Linked DNA regions of Homo sapiens: region 2 is linked to region 1. The links are contacts of gene promoters, found by promoter capture Hi-C in human tissues and cell types (Jung and others, 2019). All regions are on one chromosome and are shown on one strand. The core of a region is centred on a gene start or on the middle of the fragment in contact, and the rest is flanking DNA. Distances in the headings are between cores, read along the strand shown. Region 1 holds the start of TICRR (TOPBP1 interacting checkpoint and replication regulator). Region 2 has its middle 17 kb from the start of IQGAP1.

The links. Contacts are between HindIII fragments. The study calls those that stand out against the background at their distance.
Region 2: a contact is called between a fragment that was not itself captured here and the fragment with the promoter of TICRR in region 1, in 1 of the 25 tissues and cell types used here (hippocampus).

The regions. Positions count from the first base shown.
Region 1 is chr15:89,572,360-89,577,847 of GRCh38, reverse strand. TICRR (TOPBP1 interacting checkpoint and replication regulator) reads right to left here and starts at 2,379. Exons shown (of 22, transcript NM_152259.4): 1 at 1,608-2,379. The coding sequence starts at 2,261. RefSeq lists an enhancer at 1,452-1,980 and a silencer at 2,102-2,391. The HindIII fragment of the contact is 16,704 bases long and covers 1-5,488 here.
Region 2 is chr15:90,368,746-90,374,233 of GRCh38, reverse strand. No RefSeq gene overlaps it. Among named protein-coding and RNA genes, the nearest start is that of IQGAP1, 17 kb to the left of the region's middle. The HindIII fragment of the contact is 4,146 bases long and covers 659-4,804 here.

The DNA.
Region 1 (5,488 bases), core at 1,130-3,629:
CCTGAGCTCAGGAGTTTGAGACCAGGGTGGGTAGCATGGTGAAACTCCGTCTCTACTAAAAATACAAAAAAATTAGCCAGGCCTGGTGGCGCCCGCTTATAATCCCAGCTACTTGGGAGGCTGAGGCAGGAGAATTGCTTGAACCCAGGAGGTGAAGGTTGCAGTGAGCCGAGATCACGCCACTGCACTCCAGCCTGGGTGACAAAGCGAGACTCTGTCTCAAAAAAAAAAAAAAAAAAAAAAAAAAAGGCCTTCCCTCACTACCACTCTGTATACAATAACCACCTTCTACTCCCATCCTCTCACCCCATTTTATTTTCTCCAGAGCATGATTTGAAATTGTCACTTGCTTATCTGTTTAATCTGTTCCCTGCTTTGGTTACCATGTCCCCAGCAGCTCAAACAGTGTGGTAGGCACTCAGATGTTACTGGCTTCTCAATGAACATTTGTTGACTAAATGAAGTGCAATGAGAAGGATGAAGGCAAAAGTATATACTTATCCTAGCACTTAACAGGAGCAGGGGGCCTCACCGCCTCAGCAAAAATCCAAATTAGCCATTTAAGACTTTAAGTTTGCAAGAATGTACGCAAGAATGTACTCATTTAGTCAGCCAATACTGACTGAACACCTACAACGTTTAATACACATCTGGGTGGCTGGGCGTGGTGGCTCACACCTATAATCCTGGCACTTCGGGAGGCCAAGGCAGGCGGATTGCCTGAGGCCAGAGTTTGAGACCAGCCTGGGCAGCATGGAACCTGGTCTCCACTGAAAATACAAAAAAATTAGCCAGGCATGGTGGCGTGGGCCTGTAGTCTCAGCTACTTGGGAGGCTGAGGCATGAGAATCGCTTGAACCCGGAGGGGTGGAGGTTGCAGTGAGCCACTGCATTCCAGCCTGGGCGACATACACTGTCTCAAAAAATAATAATAAATAAATATATATATGTATATAAATAAATGTGTATATATATGTGTGTGTGTGTATATATATATATATATATATATATATATATATATATATACACACACACATACACACACACCCCTGGGTATTGTGTTAAAACCTGCTGCTTGCCTCTGAGGTATTTTTAGACTAGATGGAGGGTGAGAGATGTGCATAATCAAAACATATGGAGAAATGGTTAAGTGCCACACAAAATGTGTATGGCAATTCAGACGCTGGACTGAGCAGTTGTCACTGGGAGAAGAAGCCTTAAAGGGTAAGTGAAGTTAAGACTGGCCTGGAAGAGTGAGAACTGGCATTCCAGGCAGATTGAACAACACACATAACACAAAACAAGCAGTCCAGACCTGTTGATTTTCTGGACTGGACTTCAATATGCTAGAGTAGATGTAGTGTGTAGGAAAATCAAGTCTGGGAAGGCAGGTAGGGCCCAAATTGTGAGGGGTCTTAAACAGTAGGTAGTGAGGAACTACCCATTTTGTTGTGAAAACTGTTCCTATTTATTTGTTTCCTTCCGAAGGGACGCATAGTCATATTAGTCTCATTCGGGGTCTGTGGCTGTTCTAAGGACGCTGCCAAGTTCTGGTTAGCAAGGAAAGCACCGTGCACGCCATCTGAGACGACAGTAACCTTCCTTACCTTAGACCATTCGGTGGTATCCACCCAGTAGAAGGTGATTTTTCGGGCGACCATGACTTCCCGGACTCTCTTGGGCAACAACTTCTCCATCACCTGCTTAGGGGTGGGCGGCAGGCGCTGGGCCTGGGCCTCGCACCCAGACACGAACTGCAGCAGCTCCCTCTGCGAGTGCGGACAGGGGGCCAGGAGGAAGACGGCGTTCACCAAGCCCCCGAGCGCGGCCTCGGCCTCCTTGGCCTCGCTCTCCACGTCCAGCAGTCTCCTCCCGCTGCTCCGCAGGATCGGCTTCGTGGGCGACGTGATCTCGGGCCGGTCCCACTGGTAGTCTAGCAGCGTCTCCATCAGGGCGCCGTGCGTGTGGGTGGCCCTGGGCGCCGGGCCGGGCAGGTGGGCGCGATCCTCGAGCCTGGCCTCCAGCTCCTCCTCAAAGTCCTCCCACGAGCGGGACCCCAGCTCGCGGAAGTCAGACACGCGGGACGGCCGGCTCCGCGCCCCCTGCGAGTCAAAGAACTTGAAGGCCCAGTGGACCCTGGCCAGGCCGAATCGGCAACTCAGATAGGTGAGGAGGCGCAGGGCGGCCCGCCGGACCCGGCTGTGGCGGGCGGCGCCGCCCGCGGTGTCCAGCAGCAGCATTACTTTGTGACAGCATGCCATATCGGCCGTGCCGCCGCCCCGGGGCCCCGGTCCGGGCCCGCGCCACCGTCCCTTAGTCCCTTCCTTCAGGGAAACAGCACCACTCACTGCTTTCCTTTGGGACCCTGGTCGAAAGGCTCCCGCGCTCTCCAGGAACTGCTGCTATTGGGGGAGCTAGTTTCCAAGGTTTGCTCCTATTGGCTGCTTGCCTTACGTAAGTTACGAGAGCAACTTCCATTTTTGGCGGTGATTGGAGGGGCAGTGGAGAAAACTTCAGTCTGATTGGTGGAGGGAGTGACGGTGGGCGGGTCTCTGTGGTCCGAGAGAAGCTTAGCATTCATTGGCCTGGGCCTTCGTTTTAAATTTTAAAGAGGTGGTGCCTCGGGGGCGTGTCGAGAAGTTTCGCCATTGGAAAGAGGCCAGCGTTTGTGCGCAGTCGTGAGTGCGGACTGCGGGGCCACGTTTCCCAAGACCGAGGAAAACTTAGTGCCGGGAGGGAATTTGGGATGGTTTGAATCGAACTTGTTGAAATCCCTGTGGACCGCCTAGGAAGTAGAATCTGACGACTACGGCTTTTTCTGTAATTTAAAAAATTTTATTAAAAATTAAAGGTTCACTCCCTTTGCCCCAGTAACTTCTAGGAGTTTATCTGCAGAAGGTAATCGGAGAGCCAGATAAAAGACGTCTGTACATCTTAGAGTTTATTTAACATCAGAAAAAATGGAAACAGTTTGGGAATGGTTAAATAAGGTATGGTACACGCCCAAGGGGAGCATCGTGCAGCTCCTTTTTTTTTTTTTTTTTTTTTTTTTTTTTTTTTGAAACGGAGTCTCGCTCTGTCTCCTAGGCTGGAGTGCATTGACACGATCTTGGCTCACTGCAACCTCCACCTCCCGGGTTCAAGCGATCCTCCTGCCTCAGCCTCCTGAATAGGACTACAGGCGCACGCCACCACCCCAGACTAATTTTTGTATTTTTAGTAAAGACGGAGTTTCACCATGTTGGCCAGGCTGGTCTCAAACTCCTGACCTTGTGATCCACCCGACTTGGCCTCCCAAAGTGCTGGGATTACAGGCGTGAGCCACCAAGCCCGGCCTAGTGCAGCTTCTTAAAATAGTGTTTTATTATGTAATGTTAGGTTTTAAAAGTGGACTGCAAGCAGCACCTGCAGTGAATTCCCTAAATTTTCTATCTACATGTATATATAGATAGAAATCACATGTAGATTTGCATTACAGATAGAAATTATATATCGCTATATAGATAGAATACATAGAATTATATATAGATAGGCCGGGCACGGTGGCTCACGCCTGTAATCCCAGCACTTTGGGAGGCCGAGGCGGGCGAATCACCAGGTCAGGAGATCGAGACCATCCTGGCTAACACAGTGAAACCCTGTCTCTACTAAAAAAAAAAAAACAAAACAAAAAAAAAAGGAATTATATATAGATAGATAATCATAGATAGAAGTTATATATAGATAGAAATGCATTTATATGCATATTTTTAAACTGTTAATATAATATTGTGTACCGGAAGTTGTCTGTGATGGTCTCTCCATGTGATTTTTTTTGAAACTTTTTTACACTTCCTCTTGCTGGACACCAGTGAACAGGCTGATTTCAGAGATGTGAGATGTGCCTCTAGGATCAGTGGAATATGGTATTTGGAAAGAAGAAGGGGACAAAAAATGAAGGTCGGTTACCTGAATATGTGTTTAGGGAGATTGATCCAATACTCCACACCATTGAATTCTGCTTGCTAAGTAATTCTGTTTCCACCTGGAAACAGAACAACTTCCTTTATATGCTTTGGCTACAACTTCCTTTATGTGCCTTGGCTTCTCCAATCAAAGTCCTCAGCAATTACTGCCTCATGTACAACAATTTTCTCTTTTGGTTGAGTTTTCTAGGGCTGCCTGCCATAACAAAGGATCAAACCCAAAAATTGCCTCACAGTTCTGAAGGCTTGATGTCCAAAATCAAAGTGTTGGCATGCACTTGCTCCCCTCCAGCCCCCATGGCTCTAGGGGAGAATCATCCTTTGACTCTTCTAGTTTCTGATGTTTGCTGGCAATTCTTGGTGTTCTTCCTGTGTGTCTTCCCGTCATCTTCCCTCTGTGCATGGCTGTCTCTGTGTCCAAACTTCCCTTTTATAAGGACACCAGTCATGTTGGATTAGGGCCCACCCTAATGACTTTATTTTAACTTGCTTACTTCTACAAGACCCTATTTTCAAATAAGATCACATTCTGGGGGATGCTGGGGGATAGGAGGACCTTAACATATCTTTTTTTTTTTTTTTTTTGAGATGGAGTCTCGCTCTGTCGTCCAGGCTGGAGTGCGGTGGCGCGATCTTGGCTCACTGCAAGCTCCACCTCCTGGGTTCCCGCCATTCTCCTGCCTCAGCCTCCCAAGTAGCTGGGACTACAGGCGCCAGCCACCACACCCGACTATTTTTTTTTTTTTGTATTTTTAGTAGAGACAGGGTTTCACCATGTTAGCCAGGATGGTCTCGATCTCCTGACCTCGTGATCCACCTGCCTCGGCCTCCCAAAGTGCTAGGATTACAGAAGTGAGCCACTGCACCCAGCCAGGACCTCAACATATCTTTTTGGGAGGACACAGCTCAGCTCATAACACCTTTCATCCTTATGCCAGTCATTCATTTCACTCATCCAACAACACTTACTATATACCAGGCACCATTCCTGCCCTAATGGAATTTCCAGTCTAATAGGTAGGGGATCAGACATTAGACAGATAATAATACAGATGAACATAATATGAAAAAAATTTTTTTTCCGAAAAGAGGTTTTTTTGTTTTGTTTTGTTTTGTTTTTTGAGACGGAGTTTTGCTCTTGTTGCCCAGGCTGGAGTGCAACAGCGTGATCTTGGCTCACTGCAGCCTCCACCTCCCGGGTTCAAGCAATTCTCTTGCCTCAGTCTCCCGAGTAGCTGGGAATACAGGTGCCCACCACCATACCCCACTAATTTTTTGTACTTTTGGTAGAGATGGGGTTTCGCCATGTTGGCCAGGCTGGTCTGGAACTCCTGGCCTCAGGTGATCCACCCACCTCAGCCTCCCAAAGTGCTGGGATTACAGGCATGAGCCACCACCCGGTCTGAAAAGAATTTTAAGGGGAAAGTGAAGCATAGGATAAGGGACTACAATGGGTGAGCTGGTTAAGATTTTTGTTTAAACTTTAATGTATTCACATATTGCATTTTGTGACATATTGCATC
Region 2 (5,488 bases), core at 1,482-3,981, 800 kb before region 1:
ATGGAGCAATGTTCCTCCCTAAGACTCCAGTCAGTTCATTGACACATGTCCAGTTTGAATTTTTTTTTTTTTTTAAAAGAAAGGCCAGGTTGTACCACCTTCCTTACAATACAGAAACAAGCTCTCTCAACCACAAGCATCAATGACATTATCCAGTTTCGTGGAATCACTGGCAATGCCCCCATGTATCAGAATGTCTTCTGTGGCTGAATTTACATGTGAAGGTTAATTAAACAAAGCTTTATTTCAGTATCATGGCTTGTTTGCATTTACTCATTCATGTACCAACTGGCATAAGTGATACCTCCTCCAGGGAGCCTTCCTTGACTCTCAAGATAGCCCTTCTCTGGCTGACATATACTTCTTGTATTGAAACTATGTGTCTGGGCCGGGCATGGTGGCTCACACCTGTAATCCCAGCACTTTGGGAGGCCGAGGCAGGCGGATCACCTGAGTTCAGGAGTTTGAGACCAGCCTGGCCAACATGGCAAAAGCCTGTCTCTACTAAAAATACAAAAATTAGGTGGGTGTGGTGGCGCATTACTGTAATCCCAGCTACTGGGGAGTCAGAGGCAGGAGAATCGCTTGAACCCAGGAGGTGGAGGTTGTGGTGAGCTGAGATCACCTCACTGCATTCCGGCCTGAAGGACAGAGTGAGACTCTGTCTCAAAAAAAAAAAAAAAAAGAAAAAAGAAAGAAAGAAACTGTGTGTCTGTATGTCTGTTTCCCACAACCACTCTGTGCTCCTCAAGAGAACTGTCATGTTTATACCTGTATCCCCAGCACCCTCAACTAGGCCTGGATATAAGAGGTAATGAGTGTTTACTGAATTAAATTGAATAAATTAGAGAGATACAATGTGGGGTTCGACGTGTGTCCATATATTCTGTTTGTAACATGCCTCTGACTCTGGAGAGGGAAGACAGGCTATGCTGGCACCTAGACTCAGGCTTAGGTGCTAACATTTAGATGCTTCAGGTTTCCTTCAGTTGAGCCCAAGTCACCTGGATAAGGAAATTTATGTATTTTTAGTACATAAGTGACAGATTCAGGGCAAACTCAGTAATAAAAGCAAGCTTCTGGCTTCAAGATCCCAAGAGATTTTCTCTTAAAGAGTTTGGGCTGGACGCAGTGGCTCAAGCCTGTAATCCCAGCACTTTGGGAGGCCGAGGCGGGCAGATCACGAGGTCAGGAGTTCAAAACCAGCCTGGCCAAAATGGTGAAACCCCACCTCTACTAAAAATACAAAAATTAGACCGGGTGTGGTGGCTCAGACCGGGCGCGGTGGCTCAGACCGGGCGCGGTGGCTCACGCCTGTAATCCCAGCACTTTGGGAGGCCGAGGAGGGCGGATCATCTGAGGTCAGGAGTTCGAGACCAGCCTGGCCAACATGGTGAAACCCCGTCTCTTCTAAAAATACAAAAATTAGCCGGGCATGGTGGCAGTTGCCTATAATCCCAGCTACTCGGGAGGCTGAGGCAGGAGAATTGCCTGAATACAGGAGGCGGAGGTTGCAGTGAGCCAAGATCATGCCACTGCATACCAGCCTGGGCAACAGAGCAAGACTCCATCTCAAAAAAAAAAAAAAAAGAATTTTATAGGCAACTAAAATGGGTGGGACCAACCTGCCATCCCAGCTACAGAGAGAAAAGCCAAACATTAGTGGACTGGGACCTTACTGTGGATGAAGAATCTAGTATCTGGGGCGGAAAGCAAGGTCCTCCCAGGAGAAGAGCAAGAAAGGAAGGTTGATGCTAGAGCCCGTGGAAGGGTCTTAAATTCTACATTAAACGAGATTCTACTTTCGTCTGTAGACAATAGGAAATGATTTAAGATTTTATAAGCAGGGGAGGAGTAGGATTTGATTCAACAAAGATTTATGAAATGTTTACTTTTGTACTAGTATGAACAAGGGCATAAAGTTGAGTTAAACATAGTCACTGCCCTTTAGACAAGTACACAAGTGACTGTAATGCAAGATGAAATAAGAAGTGAGTGAAACCCAAGATGTAGAAAGAAAGGATTATAGAAGTCCAAAGGAAATCCTATCTGCTTGATAGAGGAGATCTGGAAATACTTTATGGAGAGGGAGGTGTTTTAATGGGGCCTTGAAGAATAGGTACTTTATAAACAAAATTCCCTGAAGAGGCAACATGAACAACAATAAACTTGTAAAAGTTGTGTAACTGCTGGGCACGGTGGCACACGCCTGTAATCCCAGTACTTTGGGAGGCCCAGGTGGGAGGATCACCTGAGGTCGGGAGTTCGAGACCAGTCTGCCCAACATGGCGAAACCCCATCTCGACTAAATACAAAAAATTAGCCGGGTATGGTGGCACATGCCTGTAATCCTAGCTACTCGGGAGACTGAGGCAGGAGAATTGCTTGAACCCAGGAGGTGGAGGTTGCGGTGAGACAAGATCGTGCCACTGCATGCCAGCCTGGGAGACAGACTGAGACTCTGTCTAAAAAAAAAAAAAAAAAGTTGGGTAACTTCCCCACTAATCAGGGAGATACTTTTTAACTTAATTTAATTTATTTATTTGAAACAGGATCTGGCTCTGTCATCCAGGCTGGAGTGCAGTGGCATGATCATAGCTCACTGCAGCCTTGACCTCCAGTGCTCAGGTGATCCTCCCACCTCAGCCTCCTGAGTAGCTGGAACTACAGACATCAGCCACCACGCCAGATAATTTTTATTTTTTTTTTTAGAGATGGGGTCTCACTATGCTGTCCAGGCTGGTCTTGAACTCCTGAGCTCAAGAAATCCTCCTGCCTCAGCCTCCCAAAATGTTGGGATTACAGGTGTGACCTACTATGCCCAGCTAAGACGCATATTAACACCACAATGATATATCATTTCATGCTCAAAAACATTTTATAAATAAAAATTTTACATATATAGATATATATGTATATATACATATATTTGCTTTTTTCTATATATATACATATATACATATATGTATAATACATGTATATTTATATAATACATATGCTTCCAATTAACTACTATAAATTTGTATTAGTAAATCCTTTGATTTTCATTAGTTTGTATGAGTATCATTATTGCTTAAGCAATATATTTAGTTTTGCCTGTTTTTTACCTTTACTGTATTTTTTTTTTTCCCCGAGATGGAGTCTCACTCTGTCGCCCAGGCTGGAGTGAGTGGCACAATCTTGGCTCACGGCAACCTCCACCTCCCAGGTTCAGGGGATTTTTCTGCTTCAGCCTCCTGAATAGCTGGGACTACACGCATGAGCCACCACGCCTGGCTAATTTTTGTATTTTTAGTAGAGACATGGTTTCACCATGTTGGTCAAGCTGATCTCAAACTCCTGACCTCGTGATCTGCCCGCCTCGGCCTCCCAAAGTGCTGGGATTACAGGCGTGAGCCACCGCACCTTCCCTGATCTTTACTGTATTTTTGCTCTTACTAAATATATATGTATGTATATATAGAGAGACAGGAAATAAAGCAAGTATATATAAAGGCATAGGAGTGAGAAATGCCAGACTCTTTTCCTAAGCTGTATAGTGGGTACGTGGTTGCTCTTTACACTAATTTTTGTATATTTTAATATTGATTTTTTTAAAAAAAGAGTAGATAGTAGTTCAGCAGGAGGAATTGAAGCAAGAAGCTATTCTAGAGAGAAGAAATTGTACTGGAGAGAGCAGGCTGTGTTCAGGAAACAAAGTGTCATCATTCTGCTTGGCAGAATAAAATACATTTTTTCTTTGTCATAAGAGCAGCAACTTGCATTTGTGCACTTTATAAAATACTTTCATGTGCTCCCACCAGTTAATTATCAACTTGAAGAACAAGTATTCCATTTGATAGATGAGGAAACAGGCTCAGAAAGAATAAGCGATATATTTGTGAATATTTTTGGCAGAGAAAAAGCTTAAAAGGATATACAACAAACGGTAGTGGTTATCTCTGGGAAGTGGAATTTACTCTGTTTGCTTAATTGTATTTTCTGATATTTCTATAAATGAACCTGAAGTAAAAAATAATAAAGCAGAGAGGGGGAAGGAAGACAACAGGAAAACAATGACTTCCTCAAAATCAAATGTTCATGTTTTCAGATTCCCAATCCTGCTCTGAGTTACTCTAATGAAAACAACAGAAGAAATACAAGAAAGATTCTAACATAGAAAAAAATGTTCAACCTCACTGGTAAGCAAAGAAATGCAAATTAAGACAATATGTAAGAATCATGTCTATTAAATTAGCAAAACTTTTTTAAAGATGAGGGTGTGATGAGACTAGTAGCCATTTACTGTTCGGAACACTGTAAATTGATACAATCACTTTAAAAATGATTCCACAGCAGCCAGGCGTGGTGGCTCACACCTGTAATCCTAGCCCTTTGGGAGGCCGAAGTGGGCGGATCACTTGTGGTCAGGAGTTTGAAACCAGCTTGGCCATCATGGTGAAACCCCATCTCTACTAAAAATACAAAAAATTAGCTGGGCATGGTGGTGCGCACCTGTAATCCCAGCTACTCGAGAGGCTGAGGCAGAAGAATTGCTTGAACCTGGGAGGCGGAGGTTGCAGTGAGCCGAGATCGTGCCACTGCACTCCAGCTTGAGTGATAGAGCAAGACCTGTCTCAAAAAAAAAAAAAAAAAAAAAAAAAAGATTCTGCAGCAAGTAAGGGAGGTGTAAAATTGTTCTCACCCTGTGAAAATAATCTAAAATGTGGAAACTTTTTTTCTGGGAAACAACAAAATGTTCACATGAGCATCTTTAATGCAGCAGGGCATCCCCCATTCAGACACCAGGTCCAAGATTGGCTGTTTATAGAAAGATGGCCTATAATCTTCTGGACATTTATCTGCTCTAATTTATATACATAAAGGAGCAGAGGGTGTTTTGGGGTTGGTTGGTGGGGCGGGGGGTTTGCTGAAGGAAATATAAGAAAATGTGTGTTTGTGCGTGTGTGTGCATGTGTTTGAGTGGGAATGAAGGAACTGATCTAGTGTGTCTGTTCAGGGCCCAGGCACTCAGATTACTCTTTTTCCCCCTCAGTATAACTCAATGAGATTTGAGTGAAAAAGATCAATCTCTGGAGAAGTGTTCTGTTTTCTTATTTGCTTTGTTTTATTTTTCTTGTGAAATACATTGTAAATGAAAAGCATATAAGTAATGCATATTAACAATTTAAATAATTATTTTACAAAGAAAACCTGTGTACTCGGCAGCCAACTTAAGAAACAGAAACTTTGATGGCAGAGGTGGGCGGATTACTTAAGACCAGGAGTTCGAGACCAGCCTGGCCAACATGGTGAAACTCCATCTCTACTAAAATTACAAAAATTAGCTGGGTGTGGTGGTGCATGCTTGTAATCCCAGCTACTTGGGAGGCTGAGGCAGAAGAACCACTTGAACCCAGGAGGCTGAGCTTGCAGTGATCTGAGATCCTGCCACTGCACTCCTGCCTTGGCAACAGAATGAGACACTGTCTCAAAACAAAACAAAAAA